7 separate regions of the Homo sapiens genome follow, and regions 1, 2, 3, 4, 6 and 7 are each linked to region 5. The links are contacts of gene promoters, found by promoter capture Hi-C in blood cells and fetal thymus (Javierre and others, 2016). All regions are on one chromosome and are shown on one strand. Each heading gives the region's core, a stretch centred on a gene start or on the middle of the fragment in contact. The rest is flanking DNA. Distances are from core to core; before and after follow the strand shown. Region 1 overlaps MCCC1 (methylcrotonyl-CoA carboxylase subunit 1). Region 2 has its middle 20 kb from the start of MCCC1. Region 3 overlaps MCCC1 (methylcrotonyl-CoA carboxylase subunit 1). Region 4 overlaps YEATS2 (YEATS domain containing 2). Region 5 holds the start of MCF2L2 (MCF.2 cell line derived transforming sequence-like 2). Region 6 overlaps YEATS2 (YEATS domain containing 2). Region 7 overlaps YEATS2 (YEATS domain containing 2).

The links. Contacts are between HindIII fragments. The CHiCAGO score rates a contact against its expected background, and 5 or more counts as called.
Region 1: a fragment that was not itself captured here is called in contact with the fragment with the promoter of MCF2L2 in region 5 in 2 of 17 cell types (M1 macrophages and activated CD4 T cells); the score reaches 5.3 in M1 macrophages.
Region 2: a contact is called between a fragment that was not itself captured here and the fragment with the promoter of MCF2L2 in region 5, in 14 of 17 cell types (M1 macrophages, M2 macrophages, M0 macrophages and 11 more). The highest score is 12.8, in M1 macrophages.
Region 3: a contact is called between a fragment that was not itself captured here and the fragment with the promoter of MCF2L2 in region 5, in 3 of 17 cell types (M1 macrophages, M2 macrophages and activated CD4 T cells). The highest score is 8.5, in M1 macrophages.
Region 4: a contact is called between a fragment that was not itself captured here and the fragment with the promoter of MCF2L2 in region 5, in 12 of 17 cell types (fetal thymus, activated CD4 T cells, total CD4 T cells and 9 more). The highest score is 8.6, in fetal thymus.
Region 6: a contact is called between a fragment that was not itself captured here and the fragment with the promoter of MCF2L2 in region 5, in 10 of 17 cell types (activated CD4 T cells, naive CD4 T cells, naive B cells and 7 more). The highest score is 6.5, in activated CD4 T cells.
Region 7: a contact is called between a fragment that was not itself captured here and the fragment with the promoter of MCF2L2 in region 5, in 14 of 17 cell types (megakaryocytes, endothelial precursors, activated CD4 T cells and 11 more). The highest score is 8.4, in megakaryocytes.

What each region holds. Positions count from the first base shown.
Region 1 is chr3:183,093,932-183,097,696 of GRCh38, reverse strand. MCCC1 (methylcrotonyl-CoA carboxylase subunit 1) reads left to right here. Exons shown (of 19, transcript NM_020166.5): 2 at 3,092-3,138. Among named protein-coding and RNA genes, the nearest start is that of MCCC1, 3.7 kb to the left of the region's middle. The HindIII fragment of the contact is 3,557 bases long and covers 719-3,765 here.
Region 2 is chr3:183,117,646-183,121,301 of GRCh38, reverse strand. No RefSeq gene overlaps it. Among named protein-coding and RNA genes, the nearest start is that of MCCC1, 20 kb to the right of the region's middle. The HindIII fragment of the contact is 1,570 bases long and covers 721-2,290 here.
Region 3 is chr3:183,073,759-183,077,464 of GRCh38, reverse strand. All of the region lies in intron 4 of MCCC1 (methylcrotonyl-CoA carboxylase subunit 1), which reads left to right. Among named protein-coding and RNA genes, the nearest start is that of MCCC1, 24 kb to the left of the region's middle. The HindIII fragment of the contact is 3,033 bases long and covers 1-2,892 here.
Region 4 is chr3:183,788,335-183,792,248 of GRCh38, reverse strand. YEATS2 (YEATS domain containing 2) reads right to left here. Exons shown (of 31, transcript NM_018023.5): 21 at 1,269-1,452. Among named protein-coding and RNA genes, the nearest start is that of YEATS2-AS1, 20 kb to the left of the region's middle. The HindIII fragment of the contact is 202 bases long and covers 2,056-2,257 here.
Region 5 is chr3:183,427,339-183,431,004 of GRCh38, reverse strand. It overlaps MCF2L2 (MCF.2 cell line derived transforming sequence-like 2), which reads left to right and starts at 2,386. Exons shown (of 30, transcript NM_015078.4): 1 at 2,386-3,103. The coding sequence starts at 3,028. RefSeq lists a silencer at 2,557-2,636. The HindIII fragment of the contact is 2,747 bases long and covers 369-3,115 here.
Region 6 is chr3:183,749,747-183,753,332 of GRCh38, reverse strand. YEATS2 (YEATS domain containing 2) reads right to left here. Exons shown (of 31, transcript NM_018023.5): 10 at 1,080-1,260. Among named protein-coding and RNA genes, the nearest start is that of YEATS2, 54 kb to the right of the region's middle. The HindIII fragment of the contact is 1,156 bases long and covers 1,139-2,294 here.
Region 7 is chr3:183,771,799-183,775,736 of GRCh38, reverse strand. YEATS2 (YEATS domain containing 2) reads right to left here. Exons shown (of 31, transcript NM_018023.5): 16 at 3,174-3,432; 17 at 1,943-2,104. Among named protein-coding and RNA genes, the nearest start is that of YEATS2-AS1, 37 kb to the left of the region's middle. The HindIII fragment of the contact is 2,373 bases long and covers 1,251-3,623 here.

The sequences.
Region 1 (3,765 bases), core at 1,248-3,747, 330 kb after region 5:
GACTTGGTTCATGCCTGTATTTTCAGCAGTTTCTCAGCACTGTGGGATCCAAGGTGGGAGGATTGCTTGAGTTCAAGAGTTCAAGACCAGCCTGGGCAACACAGTGAGGCTTCATCTCTACAAAACATTAAAAAATTAGCCAGGCGTAGTGGCACACACTTGTAGTCACAGCTACTTGGGAGGATGAGGAGGGCGAGGACGGCCTGAGTCCAGGGGTTCCAGGCCGTAGTGAGCCATGATCACACCACTGTACTCCATCCTGGGTGACATCCCATCTCAAATAAAACAAAAACAAAAAAATCTTAACAGCACAGATAGTTTACATTATTTTTATGTTATGAATCTTTAGTAGCTCACAGAAAATAATCTCTGGTGGCAGAATTATAGACATGACAATAAGCTGGTATAGAGCTACCTTGAATCAGGGAAGCAGCTTCTTTTTTTTTTTTTGAGACGGAGTCTCGCTCTGTCGCCCAGGCCGGACTGCGGACTGCAGTGGCGCAATCTCGGCTCACTGCAAGCTCCGGGGAAGCAGCTTCTTAATCTTGTTTAAGCCATTGCTTTTAAGTTGCAGCTTAGATAATTGTGAAAAATGGAATAGATGATCAGAACATTGTTGGGATAGTGGATTACAGTTAAGTGGGATCTCTGTCTCTTTCTCCCTCTTTTTCCCTCTCTCCCTTCTTCTGTCTTCACTAGAAGATTGCAAAAGAAAGCTTTAGGTCAACAGTAGCCTTGAAACCGAATCAGTCTTAAGCTAGCTTTACCAACAAGCAACCATTTAATAGATACATCTGCCCAGAATAGGCCTTGAAACTTATCAGAAGCCTATCTGAAGAATGTAAAGGGAAGACGATGCTATGAGCTAGAAAATACCTCATAAAGATCAGGAAAGATGATCCCCCTCCTTCAGGATCAAGAAGGTAACATCAGCTGAAATGGAAAGGTGTGGGAAAGCAGCAGCCTCGTGAGGAAGCTAGCTCACGGAACTCTCCTGCCAAAGCTGTGGGTCTTCCCAGCAGCTCCTCATGGATGGCAGCATCTGAGTGTGCATTGTAGGGCAATGAGTGTATAGACGCATATAGATGTGTAGATGTCTACTGCATCTCCGCTCCAGTGAAATACTAGTCCTGCTCAACTACATAGTCATATACATAATATGTATATACTACTGCCTAGTTACATAGTTTCTAATGCACACGCTGTGCTTTTATCTTGTGCTTTGTGAATAATCTAAAATGGTTAGTTAGTCCTTTATAACCACATCTTCCAGGTATAGACAAAAAGATAGGTGGAATTGCTTCTGTAATTTGTTTGTTTCCCTGCATATGCTTTTTATTTATTTATTTATTTTTTTTTTTGAGATGGAGTCTCACTCTGTCACCCAGGCTGGAATGTAGTGGCACGATCTTGGCTCACTGCAACCTCCACCTCCCAAGTTCAAGTGATACTCCTGCCTCAGCCTCCCAAGTAGCTGAGATTACAGGTGCGCACCACCACACCTGGCTAATTTTTGTATTGTTAGTAGAGATGGGGTTTCACCATGTTGGCCAGGCTGGTCTCGAACTCCTGACCTCAGGTAATCCCCCCACCTCAGCCTCTCAAATTGCTAGGATTACAGGCGTGAGCCACTGCACCCAGCCCACTTATCCTCTTTAGCTGAAACTTAATAGACGTTATACTTTTTTGTTCCTAAAGTGAATCTGGCCTGTTTTCTGTCAGCTCTTGGTTACTTTATTTTATACACAGGTATCACGAAACTTAAAAATTGTTGAGACTTCTACCTCATTAAAATACCTCAAGTCATTTTGTCTCCCCATTTCTCCATTTTTTTAAATACAAGGACTTGGAATAGAATTGTATAGTACTTTTAAATCTGAGAGGTACCTTCAAGATCACCTCTTATAGTCTCATCTCGTGTGTGAGAACACTGAAGCCCAAGCTATTAAATCTTGCATCCTCAACTGGGATGATACCACCGCTAAAGGGTGGAAATTGATTCTTAGGAGAGCCAGGAAATCTTAGATTTTGTCATGGTTTACGGCTTTCCAAAGCTCAACCTTACCCCACCCTTCCTACAAGGAATAAAATCTTTTAAAAGTTTTCTCATTAGGAGAGTAATAATGAAAAAAAAGTTGGAGAAACACTGATGTAAAGTGACTCGACCCTGGGCAAGCTGGTCATTGGAGGGACTCGGATGAGAATGCAGCTTTTCTGGTCCCACAGCCAACATTCTTTCTGTTGCCCCTGTTTAACTTCCGTTTATTTCTCTGGTCTTACTTTTTAAACATGTCTCATGTTTAAACTTGATTGGTATTTTTCAAACTGTAGATTGACCAGCATATTTTAATAAAATAGGATACAACTGAAAGAACCAAAAGAGTTTTGTTCTTTTTGTTTTTGTTTTTTTTTTTGAGACGGAGTCTCGCTCTGTCACCCAGGCTGGAGTGCAGTGGCCCAGTCTCGGCTCACTGCAAGCTCTGCCTCCTGGGTTCACGCCATTCTCCTGCCTCAGCCTCCCGAGTAGCTGGGACTACAGGTGCCCGCCATGACGCCCGGCTAATTTTTTGTGTTTTCAGTAGAGACAGGGTTTCACCGTGTTAGCCAGGATGGCCTCAATCTCCTGACCTCATGATCTGCTTGCCTCGGCTTCCCAAAGTGCTGGGATTACAGGTGTGAGCCACCGTGCCTGGCCAGGGCAGAATGAGTCATTTTTAACAAAACATCTGTTTTCATTAAGTGTGTGTCCTGGGTAGTTTGTATTGTGAGTTGTAGCCAAAAAGGTTTCAAAAAAGCTAAACTAGATGATGTTGGTATACCTTGGTTGTTTAATCATCTCTGACTGTGGTCTTATGCCAGCCTCAGGAACAAGCAGGCTAGGTGACTCATTCAAGGACAGGTAGTACGAGGGAAAACAGCCAGAACTCTAACTCTTGAGTTCTAGATTAGTTTTCTACCCACTAAGAAAGTCTTACTAAAGCACTGTTAGTTGGCTTAAGGTTTCATGTTTTAAGAAACTGAAATTCTTTTGAAAGAACAATTGTGTTGCCTATTCTGTTTAATTGTAATTCCTTTTGGATTTATGTTATAGGACATGGGTGTGGAGGCAAAGAACCATGAAGTACACAACAGCCACAGGTACTGACAGACTTTGTTGTTCTATTTGATTTTGCTTCAGACTGGAAGTGTTTAAGAAAGGGAAATGTTTAATCCCTTAATATATGCATAATAGAATTAGTTATCATAAATTTTGGATTTTCACGATAATTTTCTAGGAAGTGTTAAGTCATGGTTTTCACCTCTTTTGTATCAAATCTCTCTTGCTGTTAAGTCTAAAATACAGAGGGCAGCCGGGCGCAGTGGCTCATGCCTGTATCCCAGCACTTTGGGAGGCTGAGGTGGGTGGATCACCTGAGGTCAGGAGTTCGAGACCAGCCTGGACAACATGGCAAAACCCTGTGTCTACTAAAAAATACAAAAATTAGCTGGGCGTGGTGGCGGGTGCCTGTAATCCCAGATGCTTGGGAGGCTGAGGCAGGAGAATTGCTTGAACCCAGGAGGCGCAGGTTGCAATGAGCCAAGATCTCGCCACTGCACTCCAGCCTGGGCGACAGAGCAAGACTTCGTCTCAAAAAAAAAAAAAAAAAAGTAAAAATAAATAAATAAAATACAGAGGGCAATAATGGAGAACATTTTATATTCGTTTGTTCTTTCTGTCCATTTGACCCTCTTAGTGTATTGGATTGGAAAATCATAACTACGATG
Region 2 (3,656 bases), core at 256-2,755, 310 kb after region 5:
CCTGGGAAGTCCAAGATGGAAGGGCCAAATCTGATGTGCATCTTCTTGCTGCCTTGTAACATGGTAAAAGGCATCACATGGTGCGAGGACACAGAAGAGAGAGCAAGAGGGGGCCCCACACTTGTAATAATAGCATTAATCCATCCACGAGGGCAGAGCCATCATGACCCCACTGCCTCTTAAAGGTCCCGCTTCTCAACACTGTTGCATTGTAGATTAAGTTTCCAACATATGGTTTGGGGGACACCTTCCAACCACAGCGCCGGGAGAGGGAGGAACCCCTGGAGGCAGCGTGGATGCTGCCTACCTCAGGTGCCTACTGTCAAGGTGAACATTGTGGAATTCGTGGTTTACTTTTTGGAGGGAACTTCAGTAAATAAATTCCAGTATATATACTAAGATAAGTGGATTAATAGGAACATATACAAGGGATGATGAGAGCAAGGCCCTTTCCAGCCTGCTTCCAACCCTGCCCCAGGTGTAGCACCTCCTCAGGAGCACAGCCTCCCAATCCCTGGTGATGAAGGTCCATTGACCACAGGGTCTGGTGTTGACCCATTGGTCTACAGCACTGACGTCACGGCTTCACCTTCCTAAAAGAAAGTAGCCAGGATGGCTCCAGCCCCTACCCAATCTGCCCCACCTTTGTTCTTCTCACACTTTTCTTGCTTTGTAAGGTCCTAGATCCCCCCTCTGGACTCCTGTTTGGGGCTCTAAGCTTGAAGGCCAAGAAGGTCTGAGGACACAAATACATGAGCCACTCCTTCCTGACCCGGGTCTTGGTTCTCTAGGATGATTTGCTGTGAGGTTTCCCTCTGCCCACTAAGTAAAAGGAATATAAACTATAAAAAGAATGGAAGAAGAATCTCTGCCAATGAAAAAAGAGTTTCATTTTATAATACTCCAGCCCCTCGCTCATCAACAAGTCCCTTCACCCCACCTTAGTGCCTCCAAGAGATGCCAATTTTGGTCAAGTGTTGGCAGGCATAAATAAGAGATGTTTAGGCCAGGTGCCATGGCTCACACCTGTAACCCTAGCACTTTGGGAGGCTGAGGCAGTTGGATCACCTGAGGTCAGGAGTTTGAGACCAGCCTGGCCAATGTTGTGAAACCCCATCTCTGCTAAAAATATAAAAATTAGCCAGGCATGGTGGTGGGCACCTGTAATCCCAGCTGTCTGGGAGGCTGAGGCAGGAGAATCATTTGAACCTGGGAGGTGAGGTTGCAGTGAGCCAAGATCGTAGGACTGCCCTCCAGCCTGGGCAACAGAGTGAGACTCTGTCTCAAAAAAAAAAAAAAAAAAAAAAAAAAAAAGAGATGTTTTATTTTGTTTTTAACTTAACTAGTTTTATATTAAGACCAAGATTGACTAAAGATAAAATTGTGAAATAAATTCTGTTATCAAAATTATAAAATCTCTTTTGCTTTCCAGATATTCCCTCATGCTGTCCTGGCAAACTTTCTTCTTAAGTGCTCATGTATTCTTCTAACTTCCTCATACCTCCACCAGCCCCACCACCCCACCCCAACATGCTTTGGCTGACCCCAACAATGTTATTCACTCACTCAATTCCATTTTTTTTTTAAACGGAGTCTCACTCTGTCACCCAGGCTGGAGTACAACGGCACAATCTCGGCTCACTGCAACCTCTGTCTCCTGGGTTCAAGCAATTCTCCTGCCTCAGCCTCCTGAGTAGCTGGGATTACAGGTGTGCACCACCATGGCCAGCTAATTTTTGTATTTTTAGTAGAGACGGGGTTTCACCATGTTGGCCAGGGTAGTCTCAAACTCCTGACCTCAGGTGATCCACCCTCCTCAGCCTCCCAAAGTGCTGGGATTACAGGGTCGAGCCACCGTGCACAGCCATTTTTTAAATTTTTTATTTTATTTTATTTTATTTTGAGACAGGGTCTCGCTCTGTCACCCAGGCTGGAATGCAGTGGTGTGATCACGGCTTACAGTAGCTTCAACTTCCCAGGCTCCAGCGATCCTCCCACCTCAGCCTCGAAGGTAGCTGGGACTACAGGTGCGTGCTATCACACCCAGCTAATTTTTAATTTTTTTTTTTGTAGATACGTGGTCTTGCTATGTTGCGCCAGCTGGTCTAAATTTCTGGGCTCAAATGATCCACTCACCTCTGCCTCCCAAAATGCTGGGATTACAGGCATGAAGCACCAATCCTGGCTCATTATCATGTGTTAGTAACCCATTGTGGAGTCGTCTTTTATCCCTCCCAAGGCCACGTGCATTTTGTCAAAAGACATTACCTTAATCCAAAGGCATAAAGCTTCGACTAAGTGCAATGGCTCACACCTGTAATCCCAGCACTTTGGGAGGCCAAGGGAAGCAGATCATTTGAGGCCAGGAGTTCGAGATCAGCCTGGCCAATATGGCAAAACCCCATCTCCACTAAAAATACAAAAATTGGCTGGGCATGGTGACACGCACCTGTAGTCCCATCTATTCGGGAGTCTGGGGCATGAGAATTGCTTGAACCCAGGGAGCGGAGGTTACAGTGAGTTGAGATAGCGCCACTGCACTCCAGCCTGGGTGACAGAGTGAGACTCTGTCTCAACATCGACAACAAAACAAAGGCATAAAGTTTTATGTGTGAGGTTTTAGGCCTGAGCACAAGATTAGCAAGAGGAATCTTTCAAGGCAGCAGGATCTCCTGGCCTCCATCTATTCTCACCACCTGCCAGGAGTCCCTACCCACACTTCCTGTTAAGATAGCTCTGATTATAAGCTTGTTCTATACTCACCTGCCTCTGTAGCTTCACTAGCTATTGGATGGACACTTTTAATTGGACAGTTTTAAAAGACATTACCGGCTGGGCGCGGTGGCTCACACCTGTAATCCCAGCACTTTTGGAGGCGGAGGCGGGTGGATCGCAAGGTCAAGAGATCGAGACTATCCTGGCCAACATGGGGAAACCCCGTCTCTACTAAAAATAAAAAAATTAGCTGGGTGTGGTGGTGCACACCTGTAGTCCCAGCTACTCGGGAGGCTGGGGCAGGAAAATCTCTTGAAACCAGGAGGCGGAGGTTGCAGTGAGCCAAGATAGTGCCACTGCACTCCAGCCTGACAACAGAGTGAGACTGTCTCAAAAAAAAAAAGTCAGCCAGGCATGGTGGTGCACACCTGTAATCCCAGCTACTCAGTAGGCTGAGGCAGGAGAATTGCTTGAACCTGGCAGGCGGAGGTTGCAGTGAGGCAAGATAGTGCCACTGCACTCCAGCCTGGGTGACAGAGCGAGACTCCATCTCAAAAAAAAAGAGAGAGAGCTATTGCCACGTTTGCCCCAAAGCCACAAGCATCTTCCACAGGCAGCTCCCAGACAATGACTGAGCATGCAGGGATACTAAGGTGAAACCATTCCCGGGACACATTGTCCTCATCTGACAGCTGACTTTGGCTTGAGAACTTCTCAACTGCCAGAACTTCCCCAGACTGCACGGCAGAAATGCTTCTGCCCAGTGCTCTTTCCCTTTCTCCTTCATGCAAGTTCAAGCTGGCATCATGGTCTGAAAACTCTCCAGCACCTTGGCTCCCTCACCATTTTCTCCCACAGACTTTTCACCTGATAAAGTCTGGCATGGTTAATCCCATCTTGGCATCTTTTTCTTTAAAGTCCCAGACTAACGTAAGTGGTGC
Region 3 (3,706 bases), core at 127-2,626, 350 kb after region 5:
AAAACCTTGGTGAGATACCACTTCATACTCACTAGGATGCTATAATCAAAAAGAGATGATAACAAGTATTGGTGAGGACTTAGAGAAATTGGAACCCTTCTATGTTACTGATGGGAATGTAAACTGGAGCAGCCACTTTGGAAAACAGTTTTGCAGTTTCTCAAAACGTTAAACATAGAGTTACTTTATGAACTAGTAACTCTACTTCTTCAGTATATACCCAAAAGAAATGAAAACACATCCGCACAGAAATTTATACCTGAATGTTCATAGCAGCATTATTTATAGTAGCCAAAAAAGTAGGAACAATGCAAATGTCTATCAACTGATGAGTGGATAGATAAAATGCAGTATAGCCATACAATGGAGTATTATTTTGCCATCAAAAAGGAATGAAGTACTGATTTGTGTTAAACAAAAAATGGATGAACCTTGAAAATATTACGTTCAGTGACAGAGCCAGTCACAAAAGACTGCATGTATTATATGATTCCATTTATATGAAATGTTCATATAGGTAAATCTATAGAGACAGTAGATTCACAGTTGCCTAGGGCTGGGGGTTTATGGGGAGTGAGGAATGGCTAAGAGGCACAGGATTTCTTTTTGCAGTGTTAAAAACTTACATTATTAGATCTTAGTATTTTAGATTATAGTGATAATTGTGCGACTTTGAGTATACTAAAAATCATTGGGTTGGCCGAGTTTATGGTATATGAATTATATCTCAACAACTATGTTTAAAAAGTGCAGTAACACTATGCACCCACTAGATTGGCCAAAATCAGAAAGACTGATAGTACAACATGTGGGCAGGGATATGGATACACACTTTAAAGCATCATAAATTGCTGGTAGAAATGCAAAATAAAATCATCGCTTTAGAAAAGTTAAATGTATTCTTACCATATTAGGACCAAACAATTGCACTCCTGGGTATTTACCCAAGAGAAATGAAAAATATGTTCACACAGACTTGTCTGTGAATGTTTATAACACCGTTATTCATAATAACCACAAACTGGAAAATAATTCAAATGAATGGGTAAACAAAATGTGGTATATCCATATAACAGAATCCATATTATAAAAAGAAATGAGCTACTGACACACTCCATAACATGAATAAACCTTGAAAAATTATGTGAAGTTAAAGAAGCCAGACACATAATACTATGTACTGTATGATTCTGTTTATATGAATTTTTTTAAAGGCAAAACTATAGAGACAACAAGTCAGTTGTTGCTTGGGTATTGGGAACAGATTGCACATGGGCACATGGGAACTTTTTCAAGTGATGCAGGTGTTCTCAAACTGGATTGTAGTGATCCAATTGTAGTTGCACAATTGTATAGATTTACTAAATTCACCAAACTATAAATGCATGAATATTATGTATTATAAATCATATCTCAAAAGAAAACCCAAACCAGGGAGGACTAGGACATAGACCTGTTTCATTTGCCTAGTATAGATGTTTGACCATTTTATATAAAATACTCAAATTGTGGGAGAAAATATTTGCAAAGTTTGCATCTGACAAAAGTCTAATATCTAGCATCTATAAGGAACTTAAACAGATGTGCAAGAGAAAAACAACCCCATTAAAAAGTGGGCAAAGGACAGCCGGGCACAGTGGCTCACGTCTGTAATTCCAACACTTTGGGAGGCCGAGGCGGGCAGATCACACGGTCAGGAGATGAGACCATCCTGGCTAACATGGTGAAACCCTGTCTCTACTAAAAATACAAAAAGATTAGCAGGGCGTGGTGGCAGGCACCTGTAGTCCCAGCTACTTGGGAGGCTGAGGCAGGAGAATGGCGTGAACCTGGGAAGCAGAGGTTGCAATGAGATGAGATCATGCCACTGCACTCTAGCCTGGGTGACAGAGCAAGACTCTGTCTCAAAAAAAAAAAAAGTGGGCAAAGGACATGAACAGGCACTTCTCAAAAGAAGACATACATGTGACCAACAAACATGAAAAAAAGCTCAATATCACTGATCATTAGAGAAACGCAAATCAAAACCACAATGAGACACCATCTCACACCAGTCAGAATGGCTATTACTAAGAAGTCAAAAAAATAACAGATGTCAGGAGGTTGTGGAGAAAAGGGAACGCTTATACACTGTTGGTAGGAGTGTAAATTAGTTCAACCATTGTGGAAAGCAGCAGGGTGATTCCTCAAAGAGCTAAAAGCAAAACTGCCATTCAACCCAGCAATCCCATTACTGGTTGATACCCAGAGGAATATAAATTATTCTACCATAAAGACACATGTGCATGTATGTTCATTGCATCATTCACAATAGCAAAGTCATTGAATCAGCCTAAATGCCCATCAGTGACAGATTGGATGAAGAAAAGGTGGTACATATACACCACGGAATACTATGCAGCCATAATAAAGCATAAGATCACATCTTTTGCGGGAACATGGATGGAGCTGGAAGCTATTATCCTTAGCAAACTCCCACAGGAACAGAAAACCAAATACTGCATGTTCTCACTTAGAAGTGGGAGCTGAATGATAAGAACTTAAGAACACAAAGAAGGAAACAAAAGACACTGGGGTCTACCTGAGTGGGGAAGGTGGGAGGGAGAGGAGCAGAAAAGATAACTATTGAATACTGGGCTTAATACCTGGGTGACGAACTCTGTACAACAAACCCCTGTGACATGTATTCACCTGTGTAATCTTCACATGCACCCCAAACCTAAAATAAAAGTTAATAAAATAAAATTGAACTTTGGTTTAAAAGATATAAAACTCTAAACTGGCTGCAACATATGAGTATCCAGCATTTTATCTGTATCTGGCATTGCATTGTTTCCTGTCACTAGGATGTGGGTTTTTCTATTCGTATGAGTTTCCCAGATATGTGAAGCTTACCCCTTTAATTTTGAAATGTTCTTTGAGTGTAACTATTTTGAAACAGGATTGGCTGAACCTTTGTGTTTTTACATTGTTTTGGTCATAATTATAATACTCGCTCACATTTTAGAAGAACAAATCCCCTCAGGGCTACTGATGTTGGAGAGGGTGTGGCTTCATCACTCATTAAATCATCCAAGTCTTCTCTGCCTTTTGCCTCCTTCTGTTTCTTCCCTTTTTGCTGTCAGCGTGTTTACTTTTAGAAATCTTGCTGTCCTTCAGTTACTGAATTTCCTCTTCTGTGGGCTAAAATCCCAGTAAGTATGTTTGTTAAAATTCTGAGTACACTGGAAGTAACTAGGCTGAAGTCTGAGGGATGCCCTTTTCACTGAAAGTACACGTACAGTTGTCCCCTTTATCCACGGTTTTGCTTTGAGTGGTTTCAGTTACCTGCAGTCTACTATGGTGTGAAAATATTAAATGGAAAATTCCAGAAATCAACAATTGATAAGTTTCAAATTGCACGCCATTCTGAGTCACACAGTGAGATCTTGCACAGTCTGCTTTGTCCCTCCCAGGATGTGAATCGTCCCTTTGTCCAGTGTCTCCACGCTGTCTCCACTCCCCATCTGTTAGTCACTCAGGAGCCATCTAGGTTATCAAATTGACTGTCATGGTACCACCATGCTTGTGTTCAAGTCACCCTTATTTTATTTAAATCATGGCCCCAAAATGCAAGAGCAATGATGGTGGCAATTCACTTATGCTAAAGAGAAGCCATGAAATGCTTCTTTTAAGTGAAAAGGTGAAAATTCTCAAGGAAAGAAAA
Region 4 (3,914 bases), core at 907-3,406, 360 kb before region 5:
AAAACCTAGATGATGGGTTGACAGGTGCAGCAAACCACCATGGCACATGTATACTTAGGTAACGAACCTGGACGTTCTACACATGTATCCTAGAACTTAAAGTAAAATTTAAAAAAATAAAATCTTCGGTTTTCACAGCTTTTGGGATTTTAGAATTGCAGATAAAGGATTATGGACTAACAACAAAAATGATCACACATGATAATGGCAGTGGCAATTGTTTATATAATGGCCACTACACACCAGACAGTATTCTAAGCACTGATATATTACAAACTCATTTAAACCTCTCAACCTTATGAAGTAGGTATTATTATCAATCTCATTTACAGCTGAGAAACTGAAGCAAATCACTTCAACTAAGGCAATGTGGTCTCAGGATGTGTGCTCTCTGTTACTCAGAAACAAAAGGTACACTTTTCTGAGGCCCTCTAGTGCAGGCACAAAGACACCATAGCTCTTACTGGATCTCCAGCCTATCACTCTAACACTAGCCAAGATAATAACTAATGTTAAAAATTATGACTTGGAGTCAACAAGGCTAAGATATATTTTATATACTTTATAAAAGCAAAGAAAGGTATACATTTTATAGTGAATTCTATTCGACACTGATTATAGGAAAAAAGAAATTAGTACTTTAAGGAAAGCAAACTCTTGGCTCTCCCCAAAATTACGTTATAAAAAAAGCTAAAATACCCAGTAGGGTTCTGCGTGGCTAAGGGTTTATTATATCATTCAAAAATTCAAATAGTAACTTTCAAATGATAATTTAAAGTCTCAGACAAAATCTGATACGTAGATTTTAAACAAAAATAATTCATCTAAAAAGCAACTGTTCAGAAAATGCTGCTGGGTTAATTACTTTTAACAATTTACCATACAAAATATTGCTTAAGACCCTCCAAAAAAATAGCTGGGCACAGTGGCTCACGCCTGTAATCCCAGCACTTTGGGAGGCTGAGGTGGGTGGACTGCTTGACCTGAGGAGTTCAACACCAGCCTGGGCAACGTGGTGAAACCCCATCTCTACCAAAAACACAAAAAATTAGCTGGGTGTGGTGACATGTGCCTGTGGTCCCTGATAATCAAGAGGCTGAGGTGGGAGGATGGCTTGAGCCTGGAAGGCAGAGGTTGCAGTGAGTCGAGATTGTGATATTGCACTCTAGCTTGGGCGACAGAGTGAGACGCTATCTCAAACAAACAAACAAAAATATTCCAGCCCAATGAGAGAAAAGAGAGAGAAATAATATCACAATGCAACTCACCGGATACTGTGGCTTTCCCAGAGATGGGGTTTGGTGTAGGCACGAGGGACGTGGCGCTGACGACGGTGGGGGTGGCAGCCTTGCAGGTTCCCACGGTGGCCTGGCTCACACACACTTGCTGCTGCCCAGAAGTTTTCGTTACAGAACTGACCGTAGATGAAGACACGGGAGCCATTCCTTCAGACTGCTCACCCATGGGGTCCGAAACAACACAGTTCAGGAAGAAAGCAGAGTGATGACTGACGGCGGTGACGGCCACACAGCACACACACTAAATATCATCTATTAGGTGTTAATGACTACTTAGTAAATGCCATACCATTTAAAAAAGATTACTTCTCTAGTTCAGTGGTTACTATACCTTTACATTTCATGGACCAAGAAAATTTAAAAAATTTAAAACAAGGAAGTATCATGGGGGTCATCATATTTTTAAAATTCACCACCTATTATATCCCTTTATAAAAGGCAACTTCATCACCAAAAAACTAGGAGGACATATTCTCAGAATATACACATGGACTAAAAATGAGCTTTATTAAGAACACATGACAATGATTCACTTCATTGAACAAACATCTACAGTCTGTCACTTCATTGAACAAACATCTACTACATGGCCGGCATAATGGTTAAGTGCTAAGGCTCTGAGAGAAAAGCGACCAAGGAAACAGTCACCTAAGTATAATGATGCTACGGCAAGCACAGGCAAATGTCACCAACACAACCAAGAAGAAAGGCACTGCTTCTGCCTAGGAATAGAAACAGGAGGGTACAGGAAAAAGCTTCAGGTAAAACATTAGGCACTTTAGAGGAATCTTCCAGATTTAAGACAGAGAAAGGGAGAGATGACAGTGTTTCCTGGCAGAGGAGAGTATGTAGAAAGTTGGTGAGGCATGAAAGAACATTGTATGTTCAAGAAGCTGCAAAGCAGAGTGGTGTCACCTGTGAAGAGGCACGGGGAAGCAGCAGCTGCAGGAGATGAAGCTTGAGAAGTCAAGCCACATCATTCAAGTCTGTGGGCTTCCAAGACGATTGAGAGATGGTTTTTCAACAAATGTTTCTAGGCCAACTGGATATTTACATAAAAAAGAATAAAGTTTGGTGTCTACCTCACACCACGTACAAAAATTAACTAGAGCGGCCAGGTGCAGTGGCTCATGCCTATAATCCCAGCACTTTGGGAGGCCAAAGCGGGTGGATCACGAGGTCAGGAGAGCAAGACCCTCCTGGCTAACATGGTGAAACCCCATCTCTACTAATACAAAAAAAAAAAAATTAGCTGGGCGTGGTGGTGGGTGCCTGTAATCTCAGCTACTCAGGAGGCTGAGGCAGGAGAATCACTTGAATCCAGGAGGTGGAGGTTGCAGTGAGCCGAGATCGCGCCACTGCACTCCAGCTTGGGTGACAGAGCGAGACTCTGTCTCAAAAAAAAAAAAAAAAAAAAAAAAAAAATTAACTCGAATGAATCTGAAACCTAAATATAAGAGCTAAATGTATAAAACTTAGAAGAAAACAAAGGCTTGAATTTTGTGGCTTTGGATTAGGCAATGGTTTCTCAGATGTGACATCAAAAGAAAAAGCAATGAAAGAAAAATAGGTAAGTTGGGACTTTAATAAAGACTTGTGCTGGGAAAACTGGATATCTTTATGCAGAAGAATGAAACTAGACCCCTAGCTCTCACCATGCAATCAAAATGGATTAAAGAGTTAAATCTAAGACATCAAACTACGAAACTACTACAAGAAAACATTAGGGAAACTCTCCAGGACATCGGTTTGGGCAAAGATTTCCTGAGTAGTACCTCAAAAGCACAGGCAACCAAAACAAAAATGTATAAATGGGATCACATCAAGTTAAAAAGCTTCTGCACAGCAAAGAAAACAATCAACAAAGAGACAGCCCACAGAATGGGAGGAAATACTGGCAAACTACATATACATCTGACAAGGGATTAATAATCAGAATATAGAAGCTCAAACAACTCTATAGAAAAAAGCCAAACAATCTCATTTGAAAATGGGCAAAAGATCTCAACACACATTTCTCAAAAGAAGACACATAAATGGCCCAAGGGGCATATAAAAAAATGCTCAACATCATTAATTGTGAGAGAAACACAAATCAAAACTACAATGAGAAAGCATCCCACCCAGTTAAAATGACTCTCATCCAAAAGGCTGGCGAGGATGTGAAGAGGGAACCCTCGTACACTGCTGGTGGGAATCTAAGTTAGTACAATCACGATAGAGAACAGTACAGAGGGTCCTCAAAAAACTGAAAATAGAACTACCATATGATCCACATCCCACTGCTAGGTATATACCCAAAACAAAGGAAATGAGTATATGAGGAGACGTCTGCACTTCCATGTTTATTACGGCACTATTCACAATAGCCAAGATTTGGAATCAACCTAAGTGTCCATCACCAGGTGAACGATAAAGAAAATGTGGTACATATACACAATACAATATTATTCCGTTATAAGAAAGAATGAAATCCTGTCATTTGCAACATGGATAGAACTGGAGGACATTATGTTAAGTGAAATAAGCCAGGCACAGAAAGACACATTTCACACGTTCTCACTCATGTGGGAGCTAACAATTAAAACAACTGAACCCATGAAGACAGAGAGAAGA
Region 5 (3,666 bases), core at 1,137-3,636:
ATAACCCACCCACCTCGGCCTCTCAAAGTGCTGGGATTACAGGTGTGAGATAATGCACCCAGCCGATCATTTCTTCTTAATTCCAGTTATAGGATTTCAGAGCTGGAAAAGGGAACTTGGAGATCACAGACCCACTTCCTTACTGCCCAGGGGAAGCAGTGAAGGCCCTGAGAGAGTAAGTGTCAGAGATAAGAGCAGAATTAGTTTCTGAGGATAGGCACTGCCTGCTACATCTCACCATAACTTGAGCTCATTTATCTCCATGGAAACCTTTGAGGACTGTGAAAGTACCAAAGATGTGGGCAGCACTCTGAGTGTGATTTATTTCCTTTCTGTTTTCTTTTTGTTCTCATTCTTAATCATAAGCTTCTCCTCCCTCCTTTTCCTCTCCTCCATTCCTTCTCTTCTTCCTTTTCATGTTTCTCACCCATAAGGACCCGGCCTAAGCCAGGAAGCTGAGGTTACTGGATCTTCAAAGTGGCTCTGACACTCCAAGTCCAACATACCCCACATCATTGTCTTCTTTACTAGGCGTTGGTTTCTGCTGACCAAAACTCACAGTTGGCTGTGACTGGGCACCAGGGTTCTGACTACTATCAGTAGGAAACATCTCATTTGGTTCCTTGAAAATTCTTGTGACCCTTGAACGCCGGAAACATAATTCAAAAGCTGCCTCCCCTCCTGCGGATCTTTAACCTTTCTTTTTTTTTTTTTTTTGAGATGGAGTCCCATTCTGTTGCCCAGGCTGGAGTGCAATGGCACGGTCTTGGCTCACTGCAACCTCCGCCTCCTAGGTTCAAGCAATTCTCCTGCCTCAGCCTCCCGAGTAGCTGGGATTACAGGTGCGTGACATCATACCCAGCTAATTTTTGTATTTTTAGTAAAATGGGGTTTCACTATGTTGGCCAGGCTGGTCTTGAATGCCTGACCTTGTGATCCGCTCGCCTTGGTCTCCCAAAGTGCTGGGATTACAGGCGTGGGCCACTACGCCCGGCCTTTTAACCCTTTTTTGAATCTCTTGCAAAAGGTGGTTGTGAAAATGGTTGCTCAGTGGCCGGGCATGATCACTTGAGTCCATGTGTTTGAGACCAGCCTGGGCAATATGGTGAAACTCCATCTCTAAAAACGAAAAAAAAAAAAAAGAAAGAAAAGAAAAAGAAAATCCTTGCTCTGTTTTGCAGGCAGAGTGCAAAGTGCCCAAACTTCACAGGGGGAAGAACCTCTCCACAAATCTCATGACACAGGTGAACTGACCTCGCTTCTCAATCACAGCCCACAATTGTTAGAGAAAGCATTAAAAAGGGCTGGGCGCGGTGGCTCACGCCTGTAATCCCAGCACTTTGGGAGGCCAAGGTGGGCGGATCACGAGGTCAGGAGATCGAGACCATCCTTGGCTAACACGGTGAAACAAACCCCATCTCTACTAAAAAATACAAAAAATTAGCCGGGCGTGGTGGCGGGCGCCTGTAGTCCCAGCTACTCGGGAGGCTGAGGCAGGAGAATGGCGTGAACCCGGGAGGCGGAGCTTGCAGTGAGCTGAGATCGCGCCATTGCACTCCAGCCTGGGCGACAGAGCCAGACTCAGTCTCCAAAAAAAAGAAGAAAAGAGAAAGCATTAAAAAAATACCCTCAGCCCCCTGTGATGGGTGGCTACTCCTAGAATTTGGATCCAGGGTGTTTGCGGCTTGGCTTTTTACATATCGAAGAGGAAAGAGATGGCTGAGAACATCCGCCTGGGTGGTCCCGCCATTCCGCCTGCTGAGTATTCAGGGACTCCCGCTGTAGAAAGGATTGGGGGACAACCTGACCGAATTCGCATTTGCTCAGGCGTTTCCCGTAGCGCTCTGCTGAACTGGGGTTAGTCTTTTGCTGCCAGTCAGAAAGTGTCTGGGCCCAACTAGGGAAACCACGGGATAATGGGCTGATGGGGAGGAGGACCAGCATGGAGGATGTGCCACAGCCCCTCCAGAAGGTAGCACTGGCGTGCCTGACAGGTGACAGACGGAGCAGAGGCAAGGGCGCAGCTGCACGAAGGAAAACGCCCACATAGGGGGTGAGCGCGCCCACGCGTGCTCAGCCTTGTCGGAGCGCAGCCCGGGCGCCGGGCTCCCAGTGCAGGTGTGGCCAGCGGAGGTCAAGAACTGCGTGGAACAACCCCAAGTGGGGGAAAACACACGCCAGCCGCCCCCGGGGTCAGGAGGTGGGGCAAGCAGCGGCGCCTCACCCAGCCTCCCGCTCCGGGTCCTGCCGGATGGCGGCAGCTCTCCGGGCCAGCCCCCTTCTCTCCGCGGCTCCTCCGCAGACACCCGGCGCGGAAGAAGGAGGGGCGGAGACCTGGCCGGCGCGCGTCTGATGATCCGGACCCCGGTGCGACTGGAGCGCCTCAGTCACTGTCTCCCCGCCCCACGGTTCCGAGTAAGGACCGGAGCTCCACTCCGGGGGTGGAGCGCGGGCTCCCCGCAGGGAAAGGTGCGCAGCGTTCCCGACCCCAAAACGAGCGGCGCTTGGGAGCGTGCGTGCCTCCCCGAGAGCCCCGGGCGCCACCCGTGGGCTGGACGAGGTGGGCGCTGGGGCGTGGGGCCGGCGGCGCAGAGAAGCCACGGCCACCTGCCGCCTCCCCTGCACCTGGCGGAGCATCCCTCACTCTACAGTCCCTGGAGGCGGCGCCGGAAACCTGGCGGCCGGGACCGCGATTCTGGAAGCCCCGGAGCTCGCCCGGCCGGAGGAGCCGGGGCGCGGTTCCGGCGAGATTGGCGACTTGCTTCCTTTTGCAGAACGGCCGCTCCTCTCTCGGTCCAGCTGCGACGCTGGGAAAGCGCCAGACTTGGTCTGTCACGGGAGCCCCCGCGGGGCGTGGCGAGGGAGAGCTGGCCTAGGCTGCGAGGGACTCTCGTTTCTTGCCTGGAGAGCCAGGAAGAGGGCGAGGGCAGAGCATCCTTGGGCGGAGATGCCTTTAAAAAATCATCCACCGCAGCGGTAGAAACAGTTTTGTTTGGCTTTATTTATACGGAATGGTTTTTCAGTGAAATGCTGTCTTGCTTAAAAGAAGAGATGCCTCCCCAGGAGCTCACCCGGCGACTGGCCACAGTGATCACTCATGTCGGTAAACGAAGCTTTAATTTTTCCTGCGTTTTATTAATGGCGGGTGAGGATGGTCTCTGGGCTTCATCTGGCTCCTGGCCTCACCCGCTGCCCCGGGGCAGCGCGCTTCCTGGGGGGTTGCCCGGCATCTGGGCCTCGCTGCTCTGGGTCCTGCCTGCGGTGCCCAGCGGGGGGCATCCCTGGGGCGCGCCGCTGGTGGGGGTCGGGGGGCCGAGGCTGGTGCCTTCACCAGGTGGTTGCCGAGTCCGTTGAGCTCCAAACCGAGGGCTGCTGGGCTGTTACCATCCGTTAGCTGCTTCTGACGGGAGTAGGGTGGGTGGGAAGTTATGTTCTGGTTTTGGGGATAGTGAGAAAGGAGAGGGCATAAGAGGAACGAATGCCAGTGCTTTTCAGCAGAAATGATTGCCACGCCACTGAAGGCTTGTTTATAAGAAAGTGCAGGGAGAGGCAGGTTACATGGGAGCGCCCCTGCGCAGCTCGGCCGCTAGGCCTGTTTTACTGTGCTGCCTGGAGGGTTAAGCACACCCCTGATGATCCCCGCGAGAAATCTCTGCAAGCCAAGGA
Region 6 (3,586 bases), core at 467-2,966, 320 kb before region 5:
TCAATTTTATATCTTTTATGCTTATATATGGGAACATTAAAATATGTATTTATACACATATATTTGTTAAATTTAAAAATGGCATGGTCAAAATACATTGTTGGTGATGAATCTTTTCTTAAGTAAAACCAGGTATTTAATATCCAAGTTTCTTGCTCGCACAATCAGAAGCTGAACCATAAAGTCTTCCTGTAATACATTATAAGGAATTATCAAGTGATAAAAATCTGTTTTAGGCCAGGCGTGGTGGGTCATGCCTGTAATCCCAGCACTTTGGGAGGCCAAGGTGGGTGGATCACCTGAGGTCATGAGTTCGAGACCAGCCTGGCCAACATGGTGAAAACCCATCTCTACTAAAAATACAAAAATTAGCCGAGAGCGGTGGTGGACGCCTGTAATCCTAGCTAACAGGGAGGCTGAGGCAGGAGAATTGCTTGAACCCAGGAGGTGGAGGTTGCAGTGAGGCGAGATCATGCCACTGCACTCCAGCCTGGGCAACAGAGCAAGACTCCATCTCAAAATAAAATAAAATAAAAATAAATTTAAAAATCTTATGTTTTTTAGCTATTTTTACATTTTATAATATGTCAGTAAAACTTCATGGAAATTTTTTTTTTTTTTTTTGAGATGGAGTCTCGCTCTGTTGTCCAGGCTGGAGTGCAGTGGTACCATCTCAGCTCACTGCAAGCTCCACCTCCCGGGTTCGAGCCATTCTCCTGCCTCAGCCTCCCGAGTAGCTGGGACTACAGGCACCCACCATCACACCCAGCTAAATTTTTGTATTTTTAGTAGAGACGGGGTTTCACCGTGTTAGTCAGGATGGTCTTAATCTCCTGACCTCATGATCCACCCGCCTTGGCCTCCCAAAGTGCTGGGATTACAGGTGTGAACCACAGCTCCCGGCCGGAAAAATATTTTTGACAAGAGTGGAAATTTGGCTTTCATAACAGAACTGTGTAGTAGAGGCAGCATGTCCACTTATAGCAAAGTTATTTTCCATATACTATAGGTCTCTGAAAGCAGCAAATGGGAAAGGAATGCCTCAGAACAACGCTATGCAAGGAAAACTGCTGTATTACCTTTCTCCACAGAGGTATCGGGTACTGGCTCATGTGACTGCTTTATTGGTGAAGAAGCTTTCACTGGGGCTGGAATGGTCAAAGGCAAAGATGGAGGGGCATCAGAGATGTCAGACTCCGAGGACTGAGGATAGATACAGTCTTCTCCGAGAGAATGGCGATGGAGTTCAACATCCACTACCTAGACAATTGGGCAACAATCAGGCTCATGAGTCCATCATCAATGTCACAGAAAGCTCAAGTCCCGTCCAAGAATGTAATCTCCGGGATGTGAGAGATAACTTCTAATCACACTTCAAAGGCAATTTCAATCTGAAGAACTAAAGGATTTATTCTAGAAGGTAATCTAATCTGGCTTAACAGACACATACCTCAGTGAAAATCTAATCTGGTTTAACATACAAATCTCAGTGAAATTATTCACAAAATTGGGACCTCTTGATTTTGCTGTTGCTACTCCTTACAACGCTATTCCTCCAAATCTTTGCATGGCTGCCTTTCTCACCAGCAGGTCTCAATGAAGTAGCACCTTCTCAGAGAGACCATGCCTAACCACCCAAGAATAAGCTACTTCCTTATCCCCCAGCTACTCTTATCTTCACAGCACTTATTTGTAACTGAAGTAATTTTATTTGCTTTTGTGTTTACTGTCTACCCTCCCCATTTTCAATGCCACTAAGAATTTGACTCTGAAGGAAGAAGCTACCGTGTTCATTTCTGTATTCCCAGCACCTGGACCAGCGCTCAATAAGTACCTTCTGATATAATACAGCAGATTTCTCTAGACAGAGTAAGATTTAATTAGTGAACTCTGATTAAATGGCTATTGCTGATTATTATATGATGAATACAAAAAAAGGGAGAGAAGGTGAAGAACAAAGTTGGAGGTCTCAGACTCCTGATTTCAAAATTTATTACAAAGCCATAGTAATCAACAGTATGCTGCTGGCATAAAGACAGACATACAGACCAATGGAACAGAATAAATCCTCACATATATGGTCAAATGATCTTTGACAAGGGTCCCAAGACCATTCAGTGGGGGAAAAGACAGTATTTTCAGCAAATGGTGCCAGGGAAACTGGATATCCATATGCCAAAGAATGCAATCGGACCCTTACCTTACACTATATACCAAAATTAACTCAGGATCAAAGAACGAAACATAAAAGCTAAAACAATAAAACTCCTAGAAGAAAATGTAAGGGAAAAGCTTCATGACACTGAATTTGGTAATGGTTTCTTGGACACGACACCAAAAGCACAGGCAACAAAATAAAAAATAGACAAACGGGACATCAAACTTAAAAACTTCTGTGCATCAAAGGACACAATCAACAGAGTGAAAAGGCAAAAATATAACACGGAATGGAAGTAAATATTTGCAAATCATCTATCTGGTAAGGGGTTACTATCCAGAATATATGAATAACTCCTGTCACTTAGCAACAACAAAAACCAAACCACCTAATTTAAAAATGGGCAAAGACATTTTCTGAATGTCTCTGAATAGACATTTCTCCAAAGAAGATAAACACATGGTCACCAAACACATGAAGGGATCCTCAACATCACTAATGATTAGAGAAACACAGATCAAAACCACAAGATATCACATCACAAACAACAGAATAACTACTATAAATTAAAATACAAAAAAAATTAACAAATGCTGGTGAAGACGTGGAGAAACTGGAATACGTGTGCACTGTTGGTGGGAATGTAAAATGGTGCGGCTACCACGAAAAAATATAGCAGTGGTTCCTCTAAAAATAGAATTACCATAGGATCCAGCCAATTCCATTTCTGGGTATATACCCAAAAGAACTGAAAGCAAGGATTTGAATAGATACCTGTACACCTACGTTCATAGCAGCACTATTAACAACAGCCAAAAGCTGGAAGCAACGCAAGTGTCCATCAGCAGGTGAACGGATAAACAAAATGTGGTATATACATACAATGCAGTATTATTCAGCCTAAAACAGGAAGAGGGGCGGGGCACAATGGCTCATGCCTATAATCCCAACACTTTGGGGGGCCAAGGCAGGCGGACAGCTTGAGCCCAGGAGTTGAAGACAAGCCTGGACAACATAGTGAGACCCTGTCTCTACAAAAAATAAACAAGTAGGCCGGGCGCGGTGGCTCATGCCTATAATCCCAGCACTTTGGGAGGCCGAGGCAGGCAGATCATGAGGTCAGGAGATCAAGACCATCCTGGCTAACACAGTGAAACCCCGTCTCTACTAAAAATACAAAAAAAAAAAAATTAGCCGGGCGTGGTGGCAGGTGCCTGTAGTCCCAGCTACTCAGGAGGCTGAGGCAGGAGAATGGCGTGAACCCGGGAGGTGGAGCTTGCAGTGAGCCGAGATCGAGCCACTGCACTCCAACCTGGGCAACAGAGCGAGACTCCATCTCAAAAAATAAATAAATAAATAAACGAGTAAGTAAATAAATTAGCTGGTCATGGTGGCACACGCCCACAGTCCCAGCTACCTGACAGGCTA
Region 7 (3,938 bases), core at 1,188-3,687, 340 kb before region 5:
GATTTTAGATCAAAATCTATTTCCTTTCAACTGCATGACAACTGACTGTATTTCGGCTCTGAGTACAATGAAGATACTTTGACGTGGTCGTGGGAGATCAAGAGAAGGCTTGCTACTGACATTTTCTAGCCAAGTATTTTTTTGAGACGGAGTCTCACTCTGTCGCCAGGCTGGAGTGCAATGGCAAGATCTTGGCTCACTGCAACCTCTGCCTCCCGGGTTCAAGCGATTCTCCTGCCTCAGCCTCCCAAGGAGCTGGGACTACAGGCGTGTGCCACCATGCCCAGCTAATTTTGTATTTTTAGTAGAGAGGGGGTTTCACCATGTTGGACAGGATGGTCTCGATCTCCTGACCTCATGATCCGCCCGCCTTGGCCCTCCAAAGTGCTGGGATTGCAGGTGTGAGCCACTGCACCCAGCCTCTAGCCAAGTATTTTAATCAACACTTAAATGTGCTCAGCTAGGTGCTTCCCAACTTTTGGGCATCTGATTCAATGTCAGGGAATTGCTGGAATTTAGTGTAACTTTACAGTGCTCGATGTTGTCTCCCTGTCTCAGGAAAAATGAAGACTTTCCTTCATTTACAATGACTCCAGGACCCCATTCTTCTTTGCCTTTCAAATCCCACTTCAAAGCCTTGAAGTCTTTTTACTTCTCTTTTGGTGAGATAATGCATTTGAACTACCTGGACTATGAATATTCACTCAACAAATACTAACTTCCAATTTCCTTCTCCACCTTCATTCCAGTGATTATTGGAATAGCTTCCTTCCCAATGGTTTATTTTTGCACCAAGGATATCACAAGAATCTAAGTAGCTCCCTGGATGACTTCTGAAATATTTACATTGTCCTTTTCTTACACATTTAACTTTTGGACATACCACTGCTTAGGTATGAGGAAAAAACACCAAGTGAGAGTGGAACTGACACATCATGGTCAATGAACGCAAGGATGATGAGCTGACACACTGCATTTTGGCAAGGGCGGTTAACTTCCAATGACCCTGAATGCTGTACCCTTCTACTTCTGATTCAGAGGGAAATAATTTCCTTTTATCCTATCCTTTTCAACACTGCCCAAACGGTTTTTCTCTATATGTCAAAGCAAAAGTTTCTTTAACTGCAGATAAACTGCCTCATTTCCATGGGGCTTTAAGACTTACAAACCTAGGTAGAGTCTGTATTTCTCTTTCCATCTCCAAACCTAGCAGAAGTAAGGAATACATCCAAACCAGCTGTCCCCAAGCTTTGTGGCACCAGGGACCAGTTTCATGGAAGACAACTTTTCCATGAATTGGGACAGGAGGCGGGGGGTGGTTTGGGGAAGAAATTGTTCCACCTCAGATCATCAGGCATTAGATTCTCATAAGGAGCACACAACCTAGATCCCTCGCATGCACAGTTCTCAACAGGGTTCGCGCTCCTGTGAGAATCTGATGCCACTGCTGATCTGACAGGAGGCGGAGCTCAGGCAGTAATGCTTCTTCGTCCATGCTCAACTTCTGCTGTGCGGCCCAGGGGTTGGGGACCCCTGATCTAAATGAAGTCAAACAGACACACTCGATTCCAATCCTATGCCAACCTATCCCCAAAAACAGACTTCCAGCTTCTATAAGTAGATGGATCTTCCCTCAGGTATCACCAGATAATTTTCAGACACCACTTCATTCATGGTTCATGTAGACAGCTTTCTCCCAACAGCCTCACCAGCCATCTCTCTCCAGAGTGATTCATCTCTGATTGCAAACGCTGAGGAGCAAACCCACTTCTAGTTAAATTATCGTATGTGTTAAATCCATCTGAGCAAATGCTACCATTACACCACCCAACAGAGTTACAGAAATGCTTCCTGAAACAGGTAAGAACTGCCCTCAGATGGACAAGATGAACACACATAGAGAACCAAGAACCAAATGATTCAACCCAATGGTTTCACTAACTAGCATTGTTCGTAGCTCGCAGGATGGCTCCTTGAGGGATCAGCAGCAGTTTTCCTTTTCCTGAAGGGTTCTTGCTGTTTGTAGTTAGGTAGAGTTTAGTGCCAGGAGGCAAATTTGCCAAGTTGGCCAAATTAGTGGCTGGTAGCTGCAACGTTGCCATTACTAAAATGGTAAAGGAGAAAAAATTGTAAGATAAATTGAAACTAAGGGCAACACTCTAAAATTAAAATACAAGGCAATAAATTCTTATTTTAGAACACTAACAAGCAATAAATTCAAAGTTTGTTTCCCAGATGCACAATGCTTTAAAGACTGATATTCTTAAATATCTTGCTAATTAAAAAATAATTTATAGACCAGAAGAGCCTGCCAGAGGCTCTTTATATCTGTATATAATAGGATGATCGTACGTCCTGGTTCTGCCCAGAACAGTTCTAGGTTACACCTGTCCCACTATAATTATTAATAATGACTCTTTTTACTCTCCAAAGTACTGTGGTTTGGACGATTAATGAAATAATCACCCTGTCTATGGAGGATTACATATTTTCCCCCATTTGTTTAAAGTCAAAGTTAGGGCAAATGTGTGCTCCTAACTGGCAAGTACCATTGGCCCTCTGTATCTGTGGATTTCACATCCATGGATGTAACCTACCTCAGATAAAAAATATCCATATATTTGGCAGACAAAAGGATGAGTACATCTGTACTGAACATGTACAGACTTTTTTCTTGTCATTATTCCTTAAACAACACAGTGTAACAACTATTTACATAGCATATACATTGTTATTACATTGTTATTTACATTGTTATTAGGTATTAAGATAACCTAGAGATGATATAAAGTAAAGTACATCAGAGGATGTACATAGGTTATACGTAAACAGTACAGCATTTTACACAGGGGACTGTGGATTAGCATCTGTGGATTTTGCTATCTGCAGCAGGGGGTCCTGGAACCAATCCCCCACAGTACTGAGAAATGATTTGTTCGTGTGTGTGTGTGTATGTGGGTGTGTGTGTGTGTGTGTGTAAATTTAAAGCTAAATACTCACAGACCTTTATGTAAAATGTCCCATAAAAAAGAACAAACATTTCAATACACTTCTTACAGCATCAACCTAACTAGGCTTTCCTAGACCAGATCAAATAGCAAATAAAATCACTAGCAAAGGAAATTTTGGACAGAGCTTCTGCTGAAAGGGCTCCCAGTGATGATCCGTTTTACCTGAACCCTGGGATCCACTCTTCTGAGGACCAGCGGCAGTAACCTGGGCCTTGGTTAAGGTCTGCACTGGCTGAGCAACAATGGTTCCTCCACCTCCACTCACAATTGCTTTGGCAACTCCTTGGGTTACAACTTGCTTTGGCCCAACTGCTTTGGAGACAGAAGAGCTGGCCTTGGCTACCAGGATCTGGCCACCACTGATCGCCACAGCCTGCTTCACTGTTGAAGGTAAAGCAGACCCAACTGGTACCCCGACAACCTGTTCAAAACAGAGCAGAGTCCAACGGTGCTTCGAGAGCTCTTAGAACAGCAGTCACCGTTTTGGCAGAGAGCAAAACAAAGGCCTGCACATAATACATGCAGCCTAATTCAGTCATCTAGGAAAGCTACCTACACAGGTGTGAACGGCAACTGTATTTCTTACACTTGGGTATTACAATAATAGAAGCTTAACAATTGTTGTCTTGCCTCAGCTACTTTTTATAATTTACTTTAATAGAAAATTTGGGAAATTCAGAAGTATAAAGAAAAAAGTTTGGCCGGGCGTGGTGGCTCATGCCTGTAATCCCAGCACTTTGGGAGGCCAAGGCAGGAGGAGCATTTGTGGTCAGGAGTTCGAGACCAGCCTGGCCAACATGGTGAAATCCAATCTCTACTAAAAATACAAAAATTAGCTGGGCATGGTGGCACACACCTGTAGTCCCAGCTACTCTGGAGGCTGAGGTAGGAGAATCCCCTGAACCTAGGATGTGGAGGTTGCAGTGA